Linked DNA regions of Homo sapiens: all the other regions are linked to region 4. Evidence: promoter capture Hi-C in 16 types of primary human blood cells and fetal thymus (Javierre and others, 2016). All regions are on one chromosome and are shown on one strand. Each heading gives the region's core, a stretch centred on a gene start or on the middle of the fragment in contact. The rest is flanking DNA. Distances are from core to core; before and after follow the strand shown. Region 1 overlaps WRAP73 (WD repeat containing, antisense to TP73). Region 2 overlaps LRRC47 (leucine rich repeat containing 47). Region 3 overlaps CEP104 (centrosomal protein 104). Region 4 holds the start of RPL22 (ribosomal protein L22).

Region 1 (4,857 bases), core at 2,358-4,857, 2.6 Mb before region 4:
CAAGGGCAGATTTGGGCCCAAAGCATTACAGGCCTGAAGACTGTTAGACACGGCTGCGTGAAAAGCTCAAATTATCCTCTCTGAAACACTCAGGCCGAAAGTGCCTTCCAATGTCAATACATAGTGCGGAGACATTGGTGGGCCTTTGTTTCCTGTCTTATTCTCTGACAGCCCATAATAGCAGACATTAGATTTGGAGTATTTTTTAAAATCGAAACTGAAAAATATGTAAAGCCATCCAGCCATCTGAAGCAGTTGATTCAGCAACCCTCATGGCTGGATAAAACTTTATCCCAGCCGATGCCAGCTTGAAAAAAGCCGAATGAAACCCTACAGAGCATCTGCAGCCACACGCTGGGAGAAATCCTCCCAGGTGCCATCATCTACGTGGTGTGCGCGGCGCAGCGGGACGGGAGGGCTGCAGTGTGGTGTGAGCGGCGCAGCGGGATGGGCGGGTTGCCCCGTGGTGTGCGTGGCGCAGCGGGACGGGCGGGTTGCCCCGTGGTGTGCGCGGCGCAGCGGGACGGGCGGGTTGCCCCGTGGTGTGCGCCGTGCAGCGGGACGGGCGGGTTGCCCCGTGGTGTGCGCGGCGCAGCGGGATGGGCGGGTTGCCCCGTGGTGTGCGCGGCGCAGCGGGATGGGCGGGTTACCGAGGTGCAGCCAGCAGCCCAGACAGCTATGAGCACTCAGTGGACTTGGGCCCAAACACTGGGATCCAACTCCATCAGAAAAGCACATTATTAAAGGAATTCGTCCATTTTTCTGTATCTTAAAAAGACACTGCGGACACCAAAGACCTGGTATCTAAACACTTGACATATGCCTAATTTTAACTTAAAATGCAGTCTCCTATCCCAGATCCCTCTGATTTATTCTCGGATGTCAACATTCCCCTCCGCGCTGAGCTCAGCACGGAGGCTGTTGTGCGGTACCTACAGCAGGTGAATGGGCGGCTGCCGACCGCCCCGAGCCACGCCCCCAGGCCAGGCTCCTGAAGGAAAGGTGCGAGCCGGCTCATATCACAGCGCATTTTCTATCGTTGAATTAAAGGGAGTGCCGAAATCCTAAAAAATCTAAATTAAGATTTTTAAAATGTTTTTTCTTCAAAACTGGACAAAAGATCAGACAATAATACTTAGTGGCTTATAATGCTCTGACCTAAAATATACACACCACTATATACGCTCCCCGGCTCCCTCCAACCCCGCCAATCTACCAGCCACTCGGGAGCCACCTCAGTCATCAGACCCAGGGCAGCAGACAGTGCCTGTGTTCACGACACCCTTATCTGACTCAGTAGCAGCCCAAAGCACGGGCGGTGGGGCTCGCAATCTGGATACGCCAAAGAGAAGCCACAAAGTGCTTCCTTTAAATGACGAGCTGAAAGTTCTTGACGCAACAAGGAAAGAAAAAATCCTATGCTGAGGTTGTTGCTCAGATCTTCAGTAAGACCAAATCTTCTATCCATGCAATTATAAACAGTATATTGTTATCCTTGTTCTATACTATGATTGTTGCTAATCTCTTACTGTATCTAATTTATAAATTAAATGTATCACAGGTATGCTGTATAGGAAAAAACACAGGAAATACAGGGTTTGGTACAATCTGAATCCCCTGGTGGTCTTAGAATGCATCCCCTGAGGATAAGGGGAGACTAGCATACTCCAAACACACCCCCTCTCGCACTCCCCAGCTGTTTCGAGAGCAGAGGACAGGATCACATGGCCAGTAAGGTGTCTTGGGGCTGACACTTACATGGAATTCCGTGGTGTTGAGAATGTGGCGCCCGTCCGGGCTCCAGCACGAGGCCACCAGCCCGGCTGAGCCCTCGTCTATTTTGCAGTGCCATTCGGGCTGCTCTAAAGACCAGACCTGGATTGAGAGAAGAAAGAAACACACAAGTGCAAACTCATCAGCACCGAGAGACAGCGAGGACAGCTCGCTTAAACGCAGCGGAGACCCGACCGCACAGGGTGTCTTCAAACTCATCAGCAGTCTATAGCGAGGCCTCGCCGAGAGACAACTCCCTTAAAACCAGCAGAGACCCGATCACACAGGGTGTCTTTTAGAACCTTTCATGATGAAGGGCTGGTGCTGGATTCCAGTGTAAAAGTAAGCCACGCTTCTTGGTGATTTCATTTCGTTGTTGTTTTAAAACTGTTTATTCACATTGTCATTCCTAAGACCTCATTTAGTTAAGCTTTGGACACAGAAGAAAACACGACTTCTTAGGACTTCCTGAAACACACCACATCCGCGTGGCTAGATTGCTGTCAACACCTCCGTTTCTCAACTATATTGCTTAGAAATTAAGACTACGTTGGAGTTTCCTTAGTTTAAATGTTCTTAAACTTTAGAGAACGTTATAATTTCAAAAGAAAACTGGCTTTGAGCTGCACGGACTTTTTTTTCAAACTAGAAAGGCACAGAACAAAACCCCTCCTTCCCAGGGGCCCTCAGAAGGTGTCCAGATTCTAAGCGACACGGCAGCACACACCTGCACCAGCCCTCGCTTGTACATGGCGCACAGGATGAAGAGCGAGTCTGCCGACCACTCGATGTGCTGGATCTGGTCTAGGCACGTGTACAGCTGAAGGATCTGAAGGGTGTTCACATCCCGGACCACTAACCGGTACTGGACACAGGAAGCCTAAAAAATATGAGAAAGCAAGCACCTGACATTCTCCACTCCAAAAGAGGGGGGCCTTCGGAATGCTACTGCCCTGGCCTTCAGTGACTGTGGCCTTCTCTCCTGCCAGAGGTTTCATGTCTAGATCACCAGTGACATCCCCAGCCCCTAAAGATCAGTTCAGTTCATACAAGGGTAATGTTGAAATATACAAGCCAGGTTTTAATATTGCTATACTCTATTGTAAAGTATAAAAGTATGTTTTAACTCGCTACTTAAAGCTTTAAGACATTTTTAAGTCCCTTCTTATCTGTATGTTAAAAACTAAACTTAAATGGGAAGTAGCATTGGGAGAAAGCTCTTCTGTGAACTAATAACCAAAATCCTCTGCTAGTTTTATAAACACTTTTGGACAATTTCCTCAAATTTATAAAGGGTAAGAATTGAGGCTTCACAGATGACAACGAAAATGGCAAGGAATGCATCAATCTTCTTATGCAGTGCCGAACTCAGAGCCAAAACAACAGAAGATCAAAAGACAGGCTTTCACTTCTGCACACATAAAGATGCTTCGCAAATGCTCATTTATCTCCATTAACCTATTCCTAACACGAAACGGGAAATGTTTAAGTGTTAGTACTATTTTCTTAAAGATAGTTTCTTCTTGTCCATATTTGTTCATTATGTCCCTATCCAAGCAAACAATTTCAAGTAAAAATAACGCCTGAGTACTCACCTGCTGAATGTATATTTTACTACAGTTTCAAGATCAAGAACTGATGTTTAAATATTAACTGCTTCGTTAGTTTTACTTATCAAGGTCAAAGTAGTTTGTGTTTTATGAACCGATATCAAAAAAGAAAGCCACGTTAGTTTTCCGTGGGAGAAAAGAGAGACAGGCGGGTGACGGCAGATTGGAACAAGGAGCTACCACAGCACTTACTTTCTCACACTGTAGCTTTGAAAACTGTGATCAGTTACAGTGAATTCCTTATGAAATGGAATATTTTTACCAACACCTTGAGGAACCACATAAACTCTACTGCAAGATATGAAAACTAGAAACATGGACCTGCTCTCCCCAGTCCTCAGGGCTTTCAAGAAGATGATTCCAGTAACAGATCATTACCAAGTGTTTCAGGGTATTTTGACCAGAGTGTACAAGCTGGAAAAAAACACCCAAGTTAAGCAAGCAGATGTAATCTTTCTCCTTATAATTCACTGAAATTTTCATAAATGGTAAAAACAAAAAACAAACCTCTCATTTAATTGAGGAGGGGGGCACATTGAAAATATACCAAGGCTGAGATGCCATTTAAACTAATGAGGTTTTCTGTTTTGTAGCTGATGCTATTTTATGTGATTTGGAATAAAACCTCCCTGAAGAGGTAAAAAACGTAATTTGAGAGTTAAACTCTCAAAAGCTAGACAGAGCACAGGAATGTCAGGAGTGGCAAAACCTGAAAAAGCATCATGATACATCAGTCAGTTAGTACAGGTGGTGGATAAGGAAAACGAAGCCCACTTTTTACGAGGCATGTTTCTTCTTAGTGGCTTTCCAATGCCAATTGTCCCCCTCTTCTGAGGACATACATACTAGGCATCCGGGTTATCCCTCTCTTCTGAGGATATACACTACTAGGCATCCAGGTACATACACTATATGTTTTGAAGCTTAAAGTTATAGCTCTGTGATTTAAGCACCCTTCTGCCACCCATGGAACGAAGACCTCAAATCCCAGCCATGAGGACAACTACTTCCTTACCTGGGGATAGAATACTAGTATTTAAATCATTTATTCGGCATGTGGTAGAGGAGAAGAGAATTAGAGGAGAAGTAGAGATGACAAAGTAGCCACACCACTTACCAGTTTACAGGCAACAGAATCATCAATTTGCCTTTTGTGACAAAGTAACAACAAAGAGCCGACATCTCCTATACCCTCACCTGTGTGCAGTCGGCACTGCCGATACCCACCTTTCCAAGGGCACCTCCCCAGACCCCCCACCTGTCTACGGTATCTTCCTGGGTCCCGCACCTGCCCGGGCACCTGCCGGGGTCCTGCACCTGTCCGGCCCCCATATCTGCTTGGGGTACCTGCCTGGGCCCCGCACCTGCTTGGGGTACCTGCCTGGGCCCCGCACCTGCTTGGGGCACCTCCCCGGGCCCTCCACCTGTCTAGGGTATCTTCCTGGGTCCCGCACCTGTCTGGGGCACTTGCTCA
Region 2 (4,966 bases), core at 103-2,602, 2.4 Mb before region 4:
GCCTGGGCCAGCCGGTGGCAGGTGGAGCTGCATGGCTGATTGCACACTGCCCCAAGGCTCCTGGCTCCAAACCCAAGGAGGGAGCCCAAGGGCCTGTCCTGGGCTGCGGTCTGAAGCAATGATGCTTTCCTGGGAGCCTGTTGTTGGGTGGGCTGCTGCCTGCCCCAGCCCCATGACAGCCTGGATCTTCAAAAAGAGATCCCTACCTCTGACCTGCCACTCCCAAGGAGGGAAAGGAGTAGCCAGCTGGTACCCTCCCTGAAGCCCAGCTTCACAGGACAGCACTGCCTTGGGGCTGCTGTAAGGAAGTGGCAGAGGCCGCTGGGCCCAGCAGTTTGGCTGCATGGGCCCCAGAAGGCAGCACTCCGACCTGGGGGTCCTGGGGCTGGGCCTCCCCAAGAACTGGTGCGGCCCAGGAGACAGGCGAGGGCACAGGATGGGGATGGGAGCTGTCCCAGTTCTACAGTCAGAGGGGAAGTGGCCCTGGTGCTTCTGCCACGGGTCCCGCATGCCAGTGATGCCCACGCACCCCCACAAATGCTCCTTCCCACCTGTCAGGGGCTGGCATCAGATGGCACAGGCGCATGTCGGGTCTGCCCTGGATCTGTCTGGCTGCATCTGGGTCCGCCCTGGCAGGGGCCCAGCATCTTCAGCCAGGGGCTCCACCAGCAGCCCTGCCAGCCCCAGCAGGGGAGGCTACAGGCAGACACCCACGGGTGCTCATTGGGCCAGGCACTCAAGTAACCCACAGCCGCCTCTCGGGCACACCACTTGTCCCCTAAGTGACCATGGTGGAGACAGCAGCTCCAGCCCCAGTACCCCCAGGGTCATGGACCTAGGCTGAGCTGAGCAGTGTCCTTACAGCTCTGGGAGGGTTGGGGAGAGGATGGGACAGGACCCTGCTGAGTGGCCGCCTGGCCTACCCTCCCAGAGACTCACGAACAGGAGGATCTGCTGTGGATGCGTCTGGGGCCTGGGCTCCTCTGACTGTGCACCTGGGGTATCCAGGCAGCCCGACACCTCTGGTCCACCTTGTGCTCCAGGCAGGGGCCCAGCAGGGTGAGGCCAGTTCCCAGGACCCCTGGTCAAGGGCACCAGCTTCCCCATGACAGTGGCAGGTGCCTCTTGCTCCCTGCTGGCAAGATCTGGGTGGGGACAGGAGGCCCTCAGCCTCCCCACATAGAAGCCACCACTGGGCTAGAGTGAGCTTTGTGACACTTCGAGCAACAACCTCTGGCAGTGCCGGTGGGAAAGGATCTGCTGGGCCAGGTGCGGAGCTGTTTTTATTAGTGAGTCGGGGGGTGGGGTGGGGTGAAGAAAACATCAGAGACACCTGTGCTGCGAGTTAAATACATTTCCAGCATCTCACGCATCACAAGCTGCATCAGGAAAGGGCACAGCATGTGGCAGCCTCATCCACACCCACGCAGTGACAGATGTGTTACAGCATGGACACCAAGTCCCCGGGAGCCAAGATGGCAGCTCCAGCATCCCTCCCTTCCTCCCTTCCTCCTTCCCGGGCTGGGCCGGGCCATGCAGAGAAAGGGCAGCCTCTGCCATGGCAGCCCCAAATCACCTCTCAGAGCAACTGTCTGGGGTCCCCAGCCCCAGAACTCCAGCAGAGTCCTGGCCTGGGGAAGCCCCCGTGCCGCCTCAAGCCTCCAGCAGGGCAGGCCCCTGGCCAACTGTGGCATCTGCCTTGACTGCCCAGAGCAGCAGGAATCAGGTTTTGGGAGGACACAAGGCAAGGCAGTCATCTGACACACCCACGGCAGTCCAGCTGGCACTGAGTGTGTGGGCCTCGTCCTGTCTGGAGTCCCCTCCCTCCCACAGTGGGCGAGACGGGAAGGCCTGGCGGTGACCAGACAAGTGGGTCCAGGTCTCAAGGCAGCCTGGCCCATGTCCTGCAAGGCTCTGAAGAGCCACCCAGCTGTTAGTCTGCCCACTGCACAGGGCCCCGGGCCTCTCAGGTTGACAACTAAAGGTGTGTGGGCTGTGGGGCTCTTGCAGATGCTTCCCAAAATCACCAGTCATTTCTACAGACACAGAAATCGAGACACTGAACAGAGAACAAATGGTGTCATTCGATAAAGCTGATGAGTCTGCTTCTCACATGGCACCCAGATCGTAAGGCAGTGGGGTCTGTAAAATCATCGCGGTGGCTGGCCGTGTCCTCATGAGCCAAGCACACTGACTCCCGGGAGTGGTGTGCACGCACATGTGGTGCCTGGACATACACGAAGACACATGGACGTGGGGGTCTGACCTGGACATTCACAACGGAAACGTCTACAACAGAAGGCGCCCAGGACCCACCTTTCTGGCGCATAAATGAAGATTTTTGGCTCAAAAACCTAAGCATCCTCCAGCTTTTGCTACCATCTGTCCCTCGGCTGGCTGAGGACTGCCGATGCTTCCCAAGCAGAGGCGTCTGGTCCACTCCTGGGGCTCCACCTGCCTGTCACTGCAGCACCAGCGTGCACACGATGGAAACCCCACCGATGCCGCTCTCCTCCGCTTGGCCCCGCTGAGCCAGGGTGAGGTGCTGCCACTGCCTTCAGCCTACAGGCTGCTTGCCTGAAGGGGTCTCCACATCTCCACCCCCACAAAGCAATCCAACAGCAGTATGAAGAGACGCAATTCTGCCAATTCTAAGGTCACATTAAAACTTTTCCCCCCAAGATTATGATCACTGCCAGCTGGAGAACCCAACGCCCTTGCACATGCCAAGCTGCATCCTGGCATGATATGGTTTTACAAGATGCTGCGTCATAGAAAGTGACCGTGCCGTTCAAGGAAACGCACATCGGTTGGCTTCCCAAGTTTTCGGGTCTCCGAACCAGTGACAGTCACGTGTCGCTCAGTGACACATGAGAAACGTGTGCTTAGCCGCTGCTGTGTGATCACAGAGTCTTTACACAAGCCTCGATGGTGCATGTAGTTTTATTTATGTGTTTTCATCTGGAAAACCAAGTGTCCCAGCAGCATGACTGAACATCACTCACTTCCCCTACTTGATCTACAAGGCCAACGACGAGAGCCCAGACCAGGATTCCAAACACACTGCACGAGAATATTGTGGATCCGCTGTCAGGTAAGTGTCCGTCACTGACCCAGACGCTGTTACGTGGCACATGACTGTACAGTGCCACGTAACAGCACTGTACTTTTCTCCCATAAACAGTTACCTGCCATGTATCTACATGATTCAGAACATTTTGAACAGTTAATTCTGACACTTGAATAATCCCATCAAAAACCGTAAAATCACTTTGATGTTGTAACGACAACATAGCATCACTTTACGACAGAATCATCTGGAAAAACAGAACAACGAATACATACATCTTAAAAAATGCTGGGGTGGGCCAGGCACAGCTCACGCCTGTAATCCCAGCACTTTGGGAGGCTGAGGCGGGTGGATCACGTAATCCCAGCACTTTGAGGGGCAGAGGTGGACAGATCATGAGGTCAAGAGATCAAGACCATCCTGGTCAAAATGGTGAAACCCCGTCTCTACTAAAAATACAAAAATTAGCTGAGCTTAGTGGCACACACCTGTAGTCCCAGCTACTTGGGAGGCTGAGGCAGGAGAATCGCTTGAACCCAGGAGACACAGGCTGCAGTGACTCGAGATCACGCCACTGCACTCCAGCCTGGCGACAGAGCGAGACTCCATCTCAAAAAAAAAAACCAACAAAAAAACTGGGGTGAAAATCTAACGGATAATTCAGCATTGCCGCATAGAAACCTCCGCAAAACCGGCCAAACAAACGCGGACAGGCGGCCCTGGCGTCAGCGCACGACAGTCACGTGGGGAGGGGCAGTGGCCAGGTCGGCCTTGGACGGGTACACCACCTTCAGGCTCCCTTCCAGATCCACCACCCGGACCTGCTCCACCACCAGAAGGGAGGGCCCGTCCTTTCCAGCACTGGGATTCGTTGTGGGATCTGGAAGTTGTCCAGAGACTGCATCGGCTTCAGTATCTGAGAGTGATCCTTCCTCTTTATTTTCTAAAGTGTACTTTTTCATTTCTGCCATTTTCTGCAAATAAAAAATACCTTTTTAACCTGGAGATGAGAGGTGACCCAGGGAAGACATGCTGCTGTCTGCCAACACAGTAAGCAAAAAAGAGGCAAGCAGGACGGGTGGGAAGTCAAGGAGCAGAGCACCACTCACGCTCAAAAGCGTTTCTCAGGAGGAGCCACCCCACACTCACCAGAATGAGGGCATCCATGACATCCTTGCAAATCTGCAGACTGGTGGCACTTGTTACTTCCAAAAACAAATCAGAAGTCGTTTTCTTAACCTTAAAAGAAAAAAACATTTCAGAAAAGAACAGTTATCAAATGTAGACATCAGCAACTGCAACATTTGTTCTCAGGAAAAATCTACAAAACTGTGTGGCCAGGCACAGTGGCTCACACCTGTAAATCCAGCACTTTGGGAGGTTGATGTGGGAGGATTGCTTGAGCTCAGGAGTTCAAGACCAGCCTGGACAACACAGCAAGACCCCATCTCTACAAAAAAATACAAAAATTAGCCAGGTGTGGTGCCATGCACCTGTGGTCCCAGCTACTCAGGAGGCTGACATGGGAGGATCGCTTAAGCCCAAGAGTTTGAGGCTGCAGTGAGCTATGATCTTGCCACTGCACTCCAACTTCGGCAACACAGCAAGACCTATCTCAATCAATCAATTAAGCAGATGGCGTCACACACACCAAGCCCACTCCTTACAGAGGAAGACTGCAGTGCTGCACACAGCATCCCGGGCCGTCACGCAGCACCGAGCATGAACAGTGAGCTGTAGCTCTGAGAAGCCAGGGGGCCCTTTGACCCCTCTGGGCTGCGTTTTCTATTGCACACAATGAAACCTCACAATGCAGCAGATACTTGTGTGTGTTAATTCTTTTTCTTTCTTCCTCTTCTTTTTTTTTTTCTGGAGACGGAGTTTCACTCTTGTTGC
Region 3 (4,912 bases), core at 2,182-4,681, 2.4 Mb before region 4:
TCACTATGGGAGGCCAAGGTGGAAGGATCACCTGAAGTCGGGAGTTTGAGACCAGCCTGACCAACATGGAGAAACTCCGTCTCTACTAAAAATACAAAATTAGCCAGGCACATGCCTGTAATCCCAGCTACTCAGGAGGCTGAGGCAGGAGAATTGTTTGAACCTGTGAGACAGAGGTTGCAGTGAGCCGAGATTGCACCACTGCACTCCAGCCTAGGCAACAAGAGTCAAGAGTGAAACTCCGTCTCAAAAAAAAAAAAAAAAAAAAAAGTTCAAATCATAATAGCTAAAAACTCCCAAAGTTTTAACATAGCCTCAAAATGAGACATCCACGTGAGATTCAGTATGGAGCTCATCTTTGAAGGATCTTGGGAAATTAGACAATGAAAAGTTAACACAGCTCAGTTCCCAGTTGGTGAGTCTCACCTGAGGTGGGGAGTCACTTTTCCATCCTGCACCCCCAACCACTGTAGACTAACCCCACACCGCTTCCAAAAATGCAAAGGTTCAAGACAGGCACATTTGGGGCAGGAGGGCAGCTGGCACAAACTGGGAAACCGAGCAAGTTTTGAAATGAAATTTTTTAGTCTTTCATGTCAGTGAAGTGCTGCTTTAGATAGTTACTGCTTTTAAATGCAGGGCACATATATTATCATTCATGACGAGATTATCTGAACATAAGGACAATAAATAATCTATTATTTAAAAATCTTTATTAAAAAAACAAAACTCCAAACTGTTTAAAGAAAACCAAGACAACAGCCAGGTCATTGCTGGTAAATACATGCAGGTGGGTGGAGGAAGGAACAGGGTTAAGACTCATTCTTCTGGCTTCCTGGCGTGTTATGCTGCAAGGGGCCAGGCAGCTTAATTGGACCTTTGCGCTCTTGTCCAGCTCACCCGCTTGGTCTAGAGATTTGATTTGCTGGGTGCTCACATTCCTCTTGGAGGGGGCAGGGAGAGTTGTAAATGCTTGTGCTAATTAACAAGATTGCTTTGGACACAATTGATTTCTACTACACTAATCATGTGAGAAAAAGAAAAAAAGAAGGAAAGAAAGGGAGGGAGGAAGGAAGAGATGAAGAATTAGCAGCCTGAAGCTGGAGAGATTCTGGATTACATGCAACATTCATGTGTCCACAATTTCCACCAGGGAATTTACCTTGTGCACGTTGGGAGGGTTTATTTACAACTGTGCTGTCCTACACAAATAGGATGTGAGCCACATATGTCATTAAGGTTAAGTAGGCACATTAAAAAATTTAAAAATGCAATTAATTTTAAAAATATAGGTTAACACAACATATCCAAAATATTATCATTTCATCACATACAATTGACATAAAAGTTCTCATGAACTCTTTCGCGTTCTCCTTTTGTACTGAGTCTCTGAAGCCCACTGTCTGGTGATGCTGGCAGCAGCTCTGGGCACTAGGCCAGTTCGTGGTGGGCACTGGCCACGTGTGCCCAGAGGCTGCTGGATCAGACAGCACAGCTCAGAGAGCTCAGCAGTCTCCCAGAAGAGATCCTCTCTTATAAGATCACCTTGAAAATGCATCTAAGAAAAGATACGTGACCACATAATCCCACAAAGAAGGTAGGGGCAGAATCAAAGGCGAAGCTGCATGCATCTTACCTGATTATATATGTTGTATTTGTTGACATGGTTTTGGTGAAAAATCAGTTTAAGAAATTGTCCTACTGCATCCACATAAACTGATTTTAGTTCCCGGGCTTTGCAACCTGTCTTTTCATTATCACAGAGAGACACGTAGCTGAAAAACAAAACACAACTGAAGAATTTGAAAATGTGCTGTTCAATAAAACTGCTCCCTACTCTGATTGAACTCAATAGGCTCATTTATGTTTATTGTTTTATTTTTTAAAGCTAGACTACCCCTATGCAGGATCAACAGGTTTGAATAAAAGCTAAGTCTAGAATGAAAAACCTAGGAAAAACCCCTAGAACTCAAATTCTAATTAGTATTCTTCTTTTGTTGTTGTTGTTGTTGTTGAGATGGAGTCTTGTTCTGCTACCCAGGCTGGAGTGCAGTGGCGCGATCTTGGCTCATTCCAACCTCCACCTCCCGGGTTCAAGCAATTCTTCTGCCTCAGCTTCCCAAGTAGCTGGGATTATAGACGCTCACCACCATGCCCGGCTAATTTTTGTATTTTCAGTAGAGACACGGTTTCACCATGTTGGCCAGATTGGTCATCTAATTAGCATTCTTAAGAAAATTTCCACATCTGAAAAGTAGAGTTGAATAGCAGAATTCATAGAAATTATAGCGCTGCTTTTTAAGCACATTCAATAAGAGGCAGGTGTTAAGAAACTGTGTACTCTTGAACCAAATAGAAGTACATAACACAGGACCAAAAGTTAAGGGACAATTCATTTTTAAGAGCTTTCAGGGCCGAGCGCGGTGACTCACGCCTGTAATCCCAGCACTTTGGGAGGTCGAGGCGGGCGGATCACGAGGTCAGGAGATCGAGACCATCCTGGCTAACATGGTGAAACCCTGTCTCAACTAAAAATACAAAAAATTAGCCGGGCGTGATGGCGGGCACCTGTAGTCCCAGCTACTCGGGAGGCTGAGGCAGGAGAATGGCGTGAACCCGGGAGGCAGAGGCTGCAGTGAGCTGAGATTGCACCACTGCACTCCAGCCTGGGTGACACAGCGAGACTCCATCTCAAAAAAAAAAAAAAAAGAGCTTTCAGGTAGAATTAGCCTAAAAGCTGCCATGATACATTTTAAATTTCATTCTTACCCAAGTCTTCGAAACCGCTCTGCTTGATAGGGTGCAAAATATTCAGGCAAGCTTTCACTAATGTAGAACTCAATTTTACTTGAAATCATATACTGGTGAGCAAGTAACTGCAGTTTCCTTATTCGACATCTCTCCACCATTTGAAGGACAATTTCTTGTGGAAACTGGCAAAATCTGAAAGCAAACACATTTTTATATTTTCTGAACAACTTCTGCAGAGGGTTTCTAGATGCTAGCATCTCATTCTTGCAGGTAAGAAGCATTAACCACACACCCACTTTGAACAGAACAGTCTGTAGGTACTGATGGTACAAAGATGCCTGCGACATGATTCCTGTTCTCTCGAGCTTTTCTTGTTGGAGCTGAAGCTGGGAATTGAAATTTGACTTGATCTGCCTGTAACCCTATAGGAATCATACTCTTGGCAGCTAGTAAATGGTCTGATGTGAAACCTGCAGTTTTTCATAAGATAAATCAATCTTATGAGGCGGCACTAGTGGGCAGGACGGAGCCAAAGGATTTTCCACAGGAACTCAAATGCTTAAGGGCCCCAAGGTATCAATATTTAAGGAGTGCCTGCCTTTCACGCATAGTGGTCTAGGGAGACAAGCCTATGCTATGGGCCATGCTGGAGCTTCTTTGCTCAAAAGTGACATAACTTTTTTTTTTTTTTTTTTTGGGAAAAGGTCTCGCTCTGTCACCCAGGCTGCAGCGGTGTGATTATGGCTCACTGCATCTTTGATCTCCTGGGCTCAAGTGACCCTCCTACCTCAGCCTCCTGAGGAGTTGGGACCACAGGTGTGTGCCACTGTGCCTGGCTAAAATTTTGCCCAGGCTGGTCTTGAACTCCTGGGCTCAGGGGATCCTCCCCCTTCGGCCTCCCAAAGGGCTGTGATTACAGGTGTGAGCCACTGGGCCCAGCCCAAAAGTAACACAACGTATTAAATAACTAAGAGTTGGGTAGAGAATCACAGCAGTCAGCAAAGACCCCACACTGCTTCCAAAAATGCAAAAGTTCAAGACAGGCACATTTGGGGCAGGAGGGCAGCTGGCACAAATTGGGAAACCAAGCAACTTTTGAAATGAAATTCTTTAGTCTTTCATGTCAGTAAAGGGCTGCTTTAGATAGTTACTGCTTTTAAATACAGGGCACATATATTATCATTCATGGCGAGATTATCTGAACATAAGGACAATAAGTAATCCATTAGTTAAAAATCTTTATTAAAAAAAAAAAACTCCAAAACTGTTTAAAGAAAACCAAGACAACCGGCAAAGCTTTGAAGTTGTATACAGTCATGCACTGCATGAGACAGCGGTCCCATAAGATGACAACACTGTATTTTGACTTAGCTTTTCTATGTTTAGATATACAGATACCTACTTGTGTTACACTTGCTACCGTGTTCAGCACTGTCACGTGCTGTACAGGTTTGCAGCCCAGGAGCAATAGGCTATGCCACAGAGCCTAGGTGTGTAGCAGTAGGCTGTACCATCTGGGTTTGAGGGCACTCTAGGTGTTCGATGAAATCGACTGATGATGCATTTCTCAGAAAGAATGTCCCCATGATTGAGTGATGTAGGACTGTACTTTAAAAAATCCTTCCAAAAAGGGCCTATGATTTAGCTACTCAAATGTAGCTGATGAACACTTTATAGATGAATCAAAAATACCTTTCAAGCTGCATATGAAAAGAAACCACACAGCTAAAAAGGCTAGTATGCATTTATCCCTTCAAGATAAATTGACAGATACAGATTTTTTAAACTAAAAATAATTTGACAACCAAAAAAATGGATGCCCAGGGGCTACGGTTGGTGCAAACTTTACGGTTTCTTGGAAAAACGTCTTGCTCTGAAGGCTTCAGGCTCTCTGAATTCTGAGGTCACATGAACGGCACTGGGGGTCTCCCTATATCTCTTTAACCGCCCCGTCAGTGTCTCTCCTGGAAGTGCATCAATCTATGCCCTGAGCTCCGACGTAGAGGGTCCCACATTTTCTATGACCTGTGGTAACAGGGTGCCTTGTACTGTCATTGGGAGGCTCGGCTTCAGGGTATCCTCCTTTGTCTTTCTGCGATGTGCCTGACCTCAGGGAAGTCAAGAGACCCCGAGCCAAACCCAGTGGGAGTCTGTGGTGACC
Region 4 (5,079 bases), core at 962-3,461:
AAGATAGTCCTCTAACACCTCTGTGCTAGAGCCCTTCTTGCTTATTCTAAGCCCATCTCCTTTTACTCCTCACAACTGTTGCACACACAAGAAGAAACAAGACTTGGAAACAAACAAGTAATCTGCCCACATTCCCAGGGTGAGATGATACAGCCAGACCTGTGAAGCTGCCTATAAGCCTGAAAACAGAAATGTACCCCAGTAGGTTTTCTCAACAGTATCTCAAAATGTTCGTGACCACCCGAGTGGCAATAAGGATGTAACTTACAAAATTGGCAGCATCCATGATTCCATCTTCTACAGGGTGGGTGCAATCAAGAGTGAACTTCAGAACTTGCTTCTTTTTTTTGCCCCCCTTCACCACAAGCTTTTTCTAAGAAAATACACAAATGATAACAGAGATGAAGTTTCAGTCAGTCGGAAAAACAAGATTAACAGAACCAGAAACGTCATAGGTATAAAAGTCCATACAAATACAAAACTAACGGAAGTGTGCTCCCTTTGCCAGAGGGCCAAGAGGCATCACTGCCTGAGTGCCAGAGGTATAATGGGGCAGATGCTGCTGTACAAGCTTGGGGCCTGGGGTCATGCCCTTTTGATGGGGAAATCATTCTAGCACTCTTGACTCACTCAAACTTTCCAGTCTCCCCAATCTCTACAGGCATGAAGGTCTCTTAGTTTATGAACCACAATAAAATGAACACTTCCTTTTGTTTGCCCTAACATTCCCAATTTCAAAAAAATACTATTTTTCCAAAATTAGAGTGCAGGCATACAAAATGCCTTGCATACCCACAATTTTCATATGAAATCAATCCTTGTCCTACATGTTCAGAGTAGGGTCCTGATCCGTCTTAGCTCATCTCCCTTAATCCTGTCTCATCCACCTTCTCATGAAGGGAGTTGCAAAGTATTCTAGGTGCCTGTCCACTCCAGCTTGGACAAGGTTAAGGCTAAAACCTAGAATCTTATTACAACACTACCGTCAAGAACTTCTGACATTTTGATTCGCTTCATCTATGCATTAGTACTTCCAAACCACCCGGCAAAGCACATCCTACAAGGTTCCAGTTTCTTCACTCTTACGAAGAAGCTTGTGTTAATCTTATCTCTCTACAAACTTGACACCATTAATGCACTTGTGCATCGTACCAACCTGTACTTTCACGTTTAAAAGCTCTGCAGAACTAAATAGACTTTTCCAAAAACACATCTTACCTCCCTTCATGTTTAAAAGAACTTCATCTAAAACTTGTGTTAACTGGATCAACTTTTCAAACATTTGGCCACTACAAAAATCACTGATTTATTTTTTACAACGTCTCTTCGCAGTAATAATCTAAGAGGGGTACTTTAAGATCTATTCCGAACACACACAATCAATCAAGAGACCTACCCACAACGGGCTTGATACTTCTCCATCAAGGTTTTAAACCAAAAGGCATTCAAAAGCCCAACCAGACAGAAAGAGCAGAAGAACCGGAAATGTTAACCAGGGAGTCCCAACAAAAGAGGAAAAGTAGGATCTTGGGACGAAGAACACGGAAAAACAACTTTCTCAAATAACCTAGGAGGAGGGCGCCGCACAGCCCAGTCCCAGCATAGCTAAAGGAGAATGCAATGAGAGCCTTCTCCCTACACCACTGCAACACCCGTTTGGGTCTGTACAGTGCGCCCTGATAAACTAATTTCCTCTGGGGACGCTAAAAAGCTCCTCAAACCCAGGCCTCCTCTCCGAAAGCACGCCGACCAAGCCGCCCTTCCGCGGATTCGTCCCCGAGTCTTGGCCGTGGACTTCCGAATGCGCGGCTCCCCAGGGTAGCAGGTCCCGTTCTTCTTCCCCGCCCTCCACCCAGGTAATCAGGCCCCCGGCCGGGGTCCGAGGACCAGTGGCCGGCCCAGACCGCAGTCTCCAGGCTCCAGCTCCCCGCTAGCCCCTAGCTGGGGCCCCGGGCCTCCGAGACCTCCCGGATCTCCCTCACGAGCCTCGGGCCGCGGCCTCCTCCGCCTACAACGTGCTGGGATCGGCAGGGGCTCTGGCCCGCTCCGGCCGACCTGCCAGCCCACCCCAGCAGGACGCTGCAGGGCGCCGTCCCCAGCGAGCCTGGGTAGATGCCGGGCTCGGCGAGGCCCACGTGCCTCCCCTGGAGCCGAGGCCTCACGCGGAGCCATACTAACCACAGGAGCCATGGCGGCAGCGGAGTTAGAAAGGGAGGTGAGCGAACTACGCAGACGCAAAGAGCCCGCAGCGCGCAAGGCACGCAGGGTCCAGGCCGCACTAATCACTTTGCCACGCCCCTCGTCCGCCACCTTTTCTCTTGGTTATGTACGATAGGGGAGCGATTGGTTTTTCCTGAATGCAAAACGCGTCCTCTCCCAGGCCTGGAGGGTTTCTGGGGAAGGAAGGAGGCCCGGCGGGCTGTCCCACTGCGAACGATCGGAGGGGGGAAGCCAGACTGGACGAGCCCAAAGATAAATAAAGGGGTTGGCTTTACTTTTTGAAAGTCTTGGGAAGAAAAAAGAAATAAGGAAATTCACTATACTGTAAATTACCAGCTAGTGGGATGGAAATCGAATCTACTAATTTGGGGAAGTGGGAAAATTCCTTGTAGCCACCGGGAAATTTCGTTCAGAGGTCCCAATGCCAGACCACTATGGCTTCCTCAAAAAGCCCCAGCTTGGAAGCTCATGCCCAGGGGCTGTCTCCCAGTGCCTGTCCTTTTTGCTGTAGCCAGGCCGCCCCCTCGCTGATCACCACTCCCTAGTTTCCCAGCCCAAGCCTTCTAGTTTCCCATCCCAAACCAGTAAGTAGTTGAGGACCACCAGGAGATCTGGAAAATGCAGATTCCAATTCCAGCGGTCTCAGTGGCCTGAAATTCTGCATTTCTCACAAGCTCTCAGACGATGCTGATGCTGCGAGTCCATGGACCGCATGTGGAGAAGCAAAGGTCCTCATCCCCAGGCCCACAGGTCCCTTGAACTGGGCTACTTTGCACCCAGTCACCCGCTGCGTCCTCACGGAATTATATTCCAGGATCCTGAATTGTAAATCACTCAGTGGCACACACACTCTCCACTCCCTTTACCTGGCTTCAGTGTACTCACCTAGCAAAAGTCCAATCACCAGAAGAGACTGTGCTGATGGGTCTAGCTTTCAACTCAGGCCTCAAGCCGGTTGACCAAGCTCCAAAGCCAGCTGCTGTTCTTGGCTCTATAATGATCAGGCTGGGCCTCTGCAAACACTTCTGCTTTCCAGCTGATCCCGGTTTGGCTCTATCAATAGGGGGCTTTGCTTCCTGCTTGCTCCTGTCCTGTCTGGTGTCATCCACTCTTGCTTCTTTATCCTGGAGGTGGCAGTTGGAACATTCTGGAAGCAGCAGTGGAATCCAGTCTGCACTTATTCCAACATTTGCAGAACCAGCCTCGTTTTCTCCTCAGAGACACCAGCCCTAGCAGAGCAGCACCCTCTCCTCAGATGTCTGAGTTTCACCTCCCTGTGCCCCTCCTCAAGCATCTACATTTTAATAATACCACCTACCAGTGGTAGCTACTTCCTGCAGTTGCTACTGTTAGTATTATACCCCGACAGTTACCTAAACACATCTTTATACCTAGTTAACAATCCTTTATATTAAATTCTCTCAGTTAAAAACTATAATGTGTTGTCTTTTGACTGGACCCTGGCTGATAACGGACCCTAAGCGAGCCCTCAGGGCTACTGACAATCCTAAATCTCTCCCCCAAGGGACTATTTCCCTTTCTTGTTGTTTTTAATAGAGACAGGGTCTTGCTCTGTCACCAAGGCTGGAGTGCAGTGGTGTGATCATAGCTTACTGCAGCCTCAAACTCCTGGGCTCAAGTGATCCTCCCACCTTGGCCTCCCAAATTGCTGGGATTACAGGCATAAGGCACTGCACCTGGCCCAAAAGACTATTTCACACCTCAGTCATAATGCCAGCCCCTTCTTCCTAAACCTCCCTCTCAGCAGTTGACTTTTATTGTTCTTTCCTTTTTCTTTCTTTTTTTTTTTTTTTTTTCTGAGACAGGCTCTCGCTCTGTTGCCCAGGCTGGAGTGCAGTGGTGCGAATACGGCTCACTGAAGCCTTGACATCCTAGGCTCCAGCAATCCTCCCACCTCAGCCTCCTGAGTAGCTAGGACCACAGGTGTGCACCACCATGCCCAGCTGCATGTTTTTTTGTTTTGTTTTGTTTTGCTGTTGTAGAGAGTTGGTGTCTCACTATGGCTATGTTGCCCAGGCTGATCTAGAACTCCTGGGCTAAAGCAATCTTCCTGCCTCAGCCTCCCAAAGTGCTAGGATTACAGGCGGGAGCCATCACACCCAGCCTCCTCCCGTCCTTATCTACACTTGATCTTTAGACAAGACCCACATGCTCTTCCCTTTAAATATGACTCCCCAGGCCAATGTGTGCAGCCTCTACCCCTCCCTGGACTCCCCACAGGTACAGCCAGTGGCATCCTTGGCATCTCTAGACTAGTGTCCCGTAGATCACCCTGACCCTCATGAGCCCATTCTCACCTCTTCACCCTCACCCCCACCTCCCCACACTCAAACCCTCATCCCTCACCCCACACCCCCTGCCCCGCCCCCACCTCTCCAGCCTCACCCCCATCCTCCATCCTCACTCCCATGCCATGTTCAGCCCTACTCCCCACCCTGAGCTCCTTCATCTCCAGCCACATTGATCTGCTAGTCTCTAAATGTCTTCCCATTTCTGGGGCTTTGCACTTGCTCTTGCCTCTGCTTGGAACTTTTCCCAGCTTTTCTATTTTTGTTTTTCTTTCGAGACAGGGTCTTACTCTATCACCCAGGTGGGACTGCAGAGGTGCAGTCACAGCTCACTGCAGCCTCAACCTCCTGGCTCAAGCAATCCTTCCACCTCAGCCTCTCAAGTAGCTGGGACTACAAGCACGAGCCACCATGCCCAGCTAAGTTTTAGTATTTTTTATAGAGGGGGGAGTCTTGCTATGTTGCCCAAGCTGGTCTTGAACTCCTGGGCTCAAGAGATTCACCCACGCTGGCCTCCCAAAGTGCTGGGATTACGGGTGTGGGCCACTGC

Evidence for each region. The method cuts DNA at HindIII sites, captures the fragments that hold promoters and counts their contacts. A CHiCAGO score of 5 or more calls a contact.
Region 1: a contact is called between a fragment that was not itself captured here and the fragment with the promoter of RPL22 in region 4, in 1 of 17 cell types (erythroblasts). The highest score is 6.5, in erythroblasts.
Region 2: a fragment that was not itself captured here is called in contact with the fragment with the promoter of RPL22 in region 4 in 2 of 17 cell types (naive CD4 T cells and naive CD8 T cells); the score reaches 6.9 in naive CD4 T cells.
Region 3: a contact is called between a fragment that was not itself captured here and the fragment with the promoter of RPL22 in region 4, in 3 of 17 cell types (total CD4 T cells, erythroblasts and M1 macrophages). The highest score is 6.6, in total CD4 T cells.

What each region holds. Positions count from the first base shown.
Region 1 is chr1:3,644,908-3,649,764 of GRCh38, forward strand. WRAP73 (WD repeat containing, antisense to TP73) reads right to left here. Exons shown (of 12, transcript NM_017818.4): 2 at 2,501-2,653; 3 at 1,759-1,875. Among named protein-coding and RNA genes, the nearest start is that of WRAP73, 2.8 kb to the right of the region's middle. The HindIII fragment of the contact is 1,393 bases long and covers 2,912-4,304 here.
Region 2 is chr1:3,777,293-3,782,258 of GRCh38, forward strand. It overlaps LRRC47 (leucine rich repeat containing 47), which reads right to left. Exons shown (of 7, transcript NM_020710.3): 6 at 4,220-4,309; 7 at 1,267-4,044. The coding sequence ends at 3,796. Among named protein-coding and RNA genes, the nearest start is that of SMIM1, 7.0 kb to the left of the region's middle. The HindIII fragment of the contact is 9,771 bases long and covers 1-4,966 here.
Region 3 is chr1:3,845,839-3,850,750 of GRCh38, forward strand. It overlaps CEP104 (centrosomal protein 104), which reads right to left. Exons shown (of 22, transcript NM_014704.4): 3 at 2,770-2,943; 4 at 1,637-1,775. LOC124903829 (a long non-coding RNA gene) reads right to left here. Exons shown (of 2, transcript XR_007065439.1): 2 at 3,973-4,912. Among named protein-coding and RNA genes, the nearest start is that of CEP104, 8.9 kb to the right of the region's middle. RefSeq lists an enhancer at 4,760-4,912. The HindIII fragment of the contact is 1,227 bases long and covers 2,819-4,045 here.
Region 4 is chr1:6,197,384-6,202,462 of GRCh38, forward strand. RPL22 (ribosomal protein L22) reads right to left here and starts at 2,212. Exons shown (of 4, transcript NM_000983.4): 1 at 2,179-2,212; 2 at 269-373. The coding sequence starts at 2,190. RefSeq lists a silencer at 1,964-2,103. The HindIII fragment of the contact is 15,793 bases long and covers 1,092-5,079 here.